Linked DNA regions of Homo sapiens: region 1 is linked to region 2. Evidence: promoter capture Hi-C in 16 types of primary human blood cells and fetal thymus (Javierre and others, 2016). All regions are on one chromosome and are shown on one strand. Each heading gives the region's core, a stretch centred on a gene start or on the middle of the fragment in contact. The rest is flanking DNA. Distances are from core to core; before and after follow the strand shown.

What was found. Contacts are between HindIII fragments. The CHiCAGO score rates a contact against its expected background, and 5 or more counts as called.
Region 1: a contact is called between a fragment that was not itself captured here and the fragment with the promoter of SLC2A13 in region 2, in 8 of 17 cell types (total CD8 T cells, naive CD4 T cells, total CD4 T cells and 5 more). The highest score is 12.2, in total CD8 T cells.

Annotation. Positions count from the first base shown.
Region 1 is chr12:39,589,671-39,593,414 of GRCh38, reverse strand. The region is part of intron 6 of ABCD2 (ATP binding cassette subfamily D member 2); the gene reads left to right. Among named protein-coding and RNA genes, the nearest start is that of ABCD2, 28 kb to the left of the region's middle. The HindIII fragment of the contact is 3,787 bases long and covers 1-3,621 here.
Region 2 is chr12:40,104,090-40,107,460 of GRCh38, reverse strand. SLC2A13 (solute carrier family 2 member 13) reads left to right here and starts at 1,380. Exons shown (of 10, transcript NM_052885.4): 1 at 1,380-2,208. The coding sequence starts at 1,653. RefSeq lists an enhancer at 57-226 and silencers at 1,227-1,476, 1,497-1,756, 1,777-1,846, 1,857-1,946. The HindIII fragment of the contact is 3,714 bases long and covers 137-3,371 here.

The DNA of each region.
Region 1 (3,744 bases), core at 479-2,978, 510 kb after region 2:
TGGATATGGTGGTACTTGCCTGTAGTCCCAGCTACTTAAGAGGCTGAGGTGGGAGGGCTGCTTGAGTCTGGGAAGTTGAGGCTGCAGTGAGCCATGATTGCACCACTGCACTCTGGCCTGGGCAACAGAGTGAGATGCTATCTCAAAAGAATAAAAATAAAAATAAAACAAAAAAATAAAAGCTGTGAAGTTCCATTTTCTATTGTTTCTATATGAATGACTTCCAAATCTAAGATTTCTTCTTTGTAGGGATCAGGGAACTCTGTGTTATATATCAACATTGTTTAACCCACACATATAAAACCAGATGATGGCTATTAACTAGAAAGCATATGAGATCAGGTCAGAAGAACTGATTTGCCTCTTTTCTCTATGGAGGACAGAAAGGGTGCTGTTAAAGTATTCTCAGTGAGATCCTTGCTTTTTTTCTTTTTATCCAAGATCTCAGATTTTAAAAATGAGGATGTGGTCTGGAAAAGGATCTAAGCAAGAATCTGGGGTATGCTGTTTTAAATATCTTAATCTCAATTTTCCTATAGGTCTCTAGCTTTTGGACCTGTCAATTCTTAATGAATATCTAGCTGCCAAAAGGCAAACAGGGTGCACCTCTTGAGGACAAGGAGTGTGTTTATTTAAGAAAGAGGCAGACTAGCAGGCCACTGCCTGAGTGGAATATGGGTCTATAAAAGCCACTGGAATAAAGGAGGAATGTGATGTGGCTTAATCCAGAGCTCCTCACAGAACTCTATACCTATGTACTGTGCCAATGTGTATGTAGGTTACATATCTATTGTCCTGCTGCCCTCAAAGCAAAGAAATATGGCTTTGGGAGTAGGGGTTGTACTGGAACAGACTTTGCCCTTGTTGAGTCACTGTTGAACAAACTTTTATAGATTAAAAGCTAGAAAAGGCAACCACATGTCTCTGTACAGCACTGGTAGGATCCTAGTAAATATATTGTAATTGTGCAATAAATATCTGATAAGTGATTGACTGAATGAATGAACATCTCCACAGATTTGGTTTCTACTGCCAAGTCAATCTGGTACCTTACACTAATTATGAGCAATCTATTTATTTTGCTGCTTGCAGTAGGTATGTTGCAAAATTCTCTTTATGATGGGGATAAATATCTGTCATTTAACATGTCCTTTTTTAGAAAATTATTTTAACCACAAGGAAGGCTTAGTAGCATTGCTGTAGCAAATTGACTTCTATTCCTTGCTTTCTGACTGTTAGACTTACAGCCAAGTAATCTTTGTATAAATACCTTTGGGCAGTCAGTTGACAGAAATAGAAGTTGTACATTTTAGTTCCTCCTGTGTAGTAGTTGGTACAGTTCAGTTTTTTTAAATCTCTTTTAAAGAGATCTATAAATGTAAACACAATTTTCTATAGCTTTCTATGGCTTGGAAGAATGCTAAAGATACTTTTTAAAATCTTTAACTTTTCTAAGGGCTCATTTATAAAAGTAATAATGAAAAAACTCCCCTCTCACTCAAAAGTTTTTCTCATTTTATGAGTACTATTACATTAAACCATATGGAACTGCAATTTTTATAGGTCAAATATCAGCAATTTAAATGGTAATCTGATATAATGATAAATACTCTTAAAGTTGACTTTTACAGAAATTTGCATTTTTAACAGCTTAGCAATACTTTAATTCTTCCACTAATAATATATTTATTTATTTACTTATTGAGACAGTGTCTCACTCTATTGCCCAGGCTGGAGTTCAGTGACACAATCTTGGCTCACTGCAACCTCTGTCTCCAGGGTTCAAGAGATTCTTGTGCCTCAGCCTCCCAAGTAGCTGGGATTACAGGTGTGTGCCACCACACCTGGCTAATTTTTGCATTTTTAGTAGAGATGGGGTTTCACCATGTTGAGCAGGCTGGTCTCAAACTTCTGACCTCAGGTGATTCACCCAGCTTGGCCTCCCAAATTACGGGGATTACAGATGCGAGCCACTGCACCTGGCCTAATATTATTTTTATTACTTGGAAATAAACCTCATCCCTGCTCTTAAGAGGCTATTCTCATCTCTGTTTTGGAATCTAGAAATATCTTATCCAAAAGATATAATTTCAGTAATAGTAAATATCTATTTTCACTTGAATATTTCTTCTTATTATCACACATTTTTTAAGAATACTATAAATGACTCAAATCTAGTTCTTTCTATGCATGAAAAACCCTGATGCAATGATTGGTTCCAGCATGTATAGTTATGTGAATTATTGATAGTTAAATTTTATGCCTTTCAGATTGTTAACTTCTTTTGCTACGACAACACAGCAGTACTTAGTGGTACATTATTCTTAAACTTAACACATCTCATGCCTTAAATACAGTTAACATTGCTGCAAAATTTTTATCAATATTGTTCCAATTAAATTTTATATGATTACTTTAAAAATTTGTTTTCTCTGCATATAGGCCTTTCATGTCACACTTTTTTTTCTCCTCTGGATTTGAATTGGTTTTTTGCTCTCAATTTAGGAAATATTTAGAATTTTGTGTCATTCAGAAGCTCCAAGCACATAGATACAGCTAACACTTCTCAGTGCTTTCCCATTCTTTCTAGCTTTGTCTTAGAGAATAATAAAAAAGTAACTCTAACAAACATCAATACATTTTACCAAAAAAAAAAAATCACTGTCAGATTACTTAGATGTTAATGCAGAAAAGTGGGAATATAATGCAAAGTATAAAAGCACCTTGAGACATTAGTAACAAAACTATAAAAAGCCATAATCATGGGGAATGAATTTTATCTCAAATAATTTTACTATTATAATTGAATTTTAACTATATATACATTTGAAAGAATTGTAGATTCCCAAGAAAAAACAATTATTATAATTATTATAATTGTTTAAATAAGGATTATTTGTTAAATGATCCACATGTGACACCTATGGATTTATTTTGCTATCTTTTCCATAACATATAGAGATGATTCTGGGTTTTACTTATAGAAAGTAAATTAAAACTAGTTAATATTTCTTTTTTGATAGCTACTAATGAGGAGCAATCTGACCATTTCTTTTGTTGCTTATGTTAGATATGTTGCATGATCTCCTTTGTAATGAGCCAGAGCAAGTGAGCCAGTAACATTCTAACATGGTAATTGATCTACCTGAAATATTTAGAAGATTATCTGAATAGGTCTATATATCTAGAAAGGAAAGTTTAGTAAAGGGTACTTTGAGTGCTTATCTATTATGTATAACTTTGGTAGGACTACAGAAACTTGAACTGACTCAAAATGTTAAATTCCAGAACTTTGAGCTGGAAAGAGAATCACATGCAAACTAATTATATAAACATTGGCTATAGGGTCCTCCGTTTCCTTGTGCTTTCAAATTGAGTAAATGTCATCCCGAATTTTCTTGACACAGTCTTTCCAGAGAATTCAGTGGTGGCTTTAACATTATAATAATATTTTAAAATCATTATTTTAATAAAAACCTAAGCGGCTTTAGTTGCTATGTACATCAAACATATATAGAATGTATTATTTTTACCATTTCACATGATCATAAAACAATAATTGACAAAAAATTGAACTTTAATAAAACAATATTTGATTAGTCCTCAATAAATATATAAGCTTATGAATACTTTTATACATATTCATCAACATTCTCATTCACATCAGTTTTCAAAGTGAGCAATTTTTATACATCGTTACATCATTTAAATAACAATAGCTCAGATAGGGCTGGGTGCGGTGGC
Region 2 (3,371 bases), core at 131-2,630:
GACTGATAATCAAAACGAAAGCAGTTTTGACAAATTCTAATATAAGTTTTTACTGAAACAGGAATGACAAAATCCTTTTGTCTGAAAGGAAAAAAGTTATAGCTGCATGAAAAATAGGCCCCAGGCTAAGAAAGCTTTTGCTCAAATAAGGGAAATAAAAGAGCAGTGGAATTGTAGGAATAGAATCATATGATGCTTGACTTTTTGCCCTCAGCCTGAAGAATGAAAGCAAATTAGAGGCACAAAACATCTTTAGCAGTCCCAGCTGCTAGGAAGGCTGAGGCAGGAGAATCGCTTGAACCTGGGAGGCGGAGGCTGCAGTGTGCCGAGATAGCGCCACTGCACTCCAGCCTGGGCGACAGAGCGAGAATCTGTCTCAAAAACAAAACAAAACAAAACAAACTATCTTTAGCCCCTGATGCGCAACTGTATATTTTAAAAACATTTAAATTAAAGGGGGAAACAAACCCCAAATGAACCAACAACTGTTAATTCACTCAACAGTTTAAAAAATTGGTTGCAAATAACGTTATCTTTGCTTTGTTTCAAGTAAATGAGGCTGTTAAAACAGTGCCTCATGGAGGGCAACAGTGGGGATTCTCAGGAGAGAAGCTATCCTACCTTTTGGTTAGCATGTTGGGGCGGGGAAATGGAGACTGCCTGCCGAATCACAAATCAGGGTCTTGAGTTTTCTTTCTATTTCTGGGAATTACCCGTTACATGAGTGGAATGCATATATGTGAATTTTCTTTTACAGGTCGGGGATCCATGGAAGGAGGGTTTGGGATTCACCACAGAGATATGTTCTCTGTCCTCAAAGAATCAAATGTACCATTCCTTTAAAATAAGCATAAATTGAGGAGGGACTGGCGATGAGAGTGGAAACTAGCTATAGAAATGGGAGCATGCAGCCCTGAATTGCTCCAGAACAAACACATTTAATGCCAGGGAAGTAGACCACGCTGGGTAATGTCACAATACTATAAAAGGAAGGGTACTTGCTAGGTCCTATTCTAGGATATTTTTTCCAGCCCTCTCTCTAGGCTGCTGGAAGGACAGTGAGGCTGGTTTAGGTGCTCTCTCCCTCCTCTCCAAACACGGCAAACATTCTGGGTGGCTTCCCGTCTGGAAGCCTGTTGCCTGATGGCATCGCCACATTGGCTTGCTCCACCGCTGCAGCTCGGAAGGCAGGGTTAATTCCATACGGTTGCCAGAGCCCTAAATGAGGGAGCCTAGGTCAGAGGTCGCACCCACCGGGAGGGCGGGGTTTAGGGGTCCGGGGCGGGCTGAGCCTGGCCCCGCCCAAGGAGGGGGCGGGACGTTTCCCGGGCCCCGCCCCGCCGGCCCGGGGTTGCACGTGACCCGCGGTCCCGCCTCCCGCCCGCTCCGCAGCGCCAGCTCGGCAGGCGCGGGGCGTGAGTGTGGAGTGAGACCCGCCGGGCTCCAACTCCGCAGCGTCGGAGCGCGGCGGGCAGCAACTTTCTCCCCGGAGCGGCCGTGGCGGCGGCTGCTGCCGTGGCAGCCGGAGCGGAAGCCGGGAGGAAGAAAGCGGCGGCAGCGGCGGTTGCTCCCGCCGGCTCGGGCTGTCTAGCTCGCCGAGACTGCCGGCCCGCGGAGCCGCGTCCCCCCGGGCAGCCCCGGGCCCCTGCCCTATGTCCCGCAAGGCAAGCGAGAATGTGGAGTACACGCTGCGGAGCCTGAGCAGCCTGATGGGCGAGCGGCGCAGGAAGCAGCCGGAGCCGGACGCGGCGAGCGCGGCCGGGGAGTGCAGCCTCCTGGCTGCCGCCGAATCGAGCACCAGCCTGCAGAGCGCGGGCGCGGGCGGCGGCGGCGTCGGGGACCTGGAGCGCGCGGCGCGGCGGCAGTTCCAGCAGGACGAGACCCCCGCCTTCGTGTACGTGGTGGCCGTCTTCTCCGCGCTGGGCGGCTTCCTGTTTGGCTATGACACCGGGGTGGTGTCAGGGGCCATGCTGCTGCTCAAGCGGCAGCTCAGTCTGGACGCGCTGTGGCAGGAGCTGCTGGTGTCCAGCACGGTGGGGGCGGCTGCCGTCTCGGCGCTGGCCGGAGGCGCCCTCAACGGCGTCTTCGGCCGCCGCGCTGCCATCCTCCTGGCCAGTGCCCTCTTCACCGCCGGCTCCGCGGTGCTGGCTGCGGCCAACAACAAGGAGACACTGCTCGCCGGCCGCCTGGTCGTGGGACTCGGCATCGGTGAGTTCGGGCTCCGTGAAGGGCGCCCGGGATCCCATTGTCACCGCCCTTGACCCTGGGTGTTGCGTGCCTCTTGCCCATCGGGGTCCCCGTCTGGTCTCCCAGGGTCAGAGAATCCTCCACTTCTCTGGCCTCCAGAGCCCATCTGTTTGTTGGTCCAGCCTCCAAGGCTCTCCCGGGAGGTGGGAGGGTCGGGGGGGAGGGGGTGTCACTCTAGTCTCCCTCGAGCGCACGTGGAATCTTTGATAGGCCACGGACCAGTCAGTCCAAGTGGTTGTTGCCTCTCAGCACTTCCAGAAACCTAGCTGAGCACCAGCTCTTTCCTTGATCCAGCCTAACCTGATGCTGCTTCTTGAGCTTACGAGGGTCTCTGCTTTCCTGCACTGTCCCACCTTGCCTCTCCACTGCTAGCCCCTTTCGTTTTCTGGGGCTCCCAGCCTGGAACCTAGACCATCGTCAAGTTACAGTGAGATAATATTTAGAGTTAAGTAATTCTGGACTCTGAAAGGTTTATTAGCGACCCCTGCCCTCTTTGCTTATCTAGCATTTGTCTTTAGATGGCATCTCCTTTTGCTTTTATGCTTTTTCTATTGCCTTTCAGCTTTCATTCTTTTCCCAAGTAAATTCCATTCTCCTCTGTTTTTCCAACTTTTTCATTTGAATCCTTTTTTATCCATTCTCCTCTTTGTTTTTCCTCTCCTGCTTTCCAGTTGGGAACCAAATTATCTATTAAAGGTCATATTCACTTCCTTAATTCATTTAGGAGCTACTCCCCCTGTGGATAAATGCCCCGCAAGATAAATGTTTGGAATTTACTTCAAAAATGAAGGCATTAAGGTTCTCCTGGCGTTGAATTTTTTTCACCCTGGTTGCTGAGCAGGGGAGGTACAATTGGCAAGTTTTTGGCAGAGGGAAGCTATTTGGAATGTGCTCTGTATTATTAGAAAGCACTTTTGAGGGAAAGTGGGGGGCTGTGACTTAAATCTCACTAGTAATTTTTCTAAGACACACCGCTGATGCTTTTTTAATGTTTCGTTTCATAATTCAGTTTTTTGTTTCCCTTAGGGTGCTGTTGAAGTATTTCTTCCCTATGGCTGGGGCTTGATGAAAGCGCTTTAAACCTGGGGCTGCTGCTGATCTGTGTATTCACCACTTGTTTGATG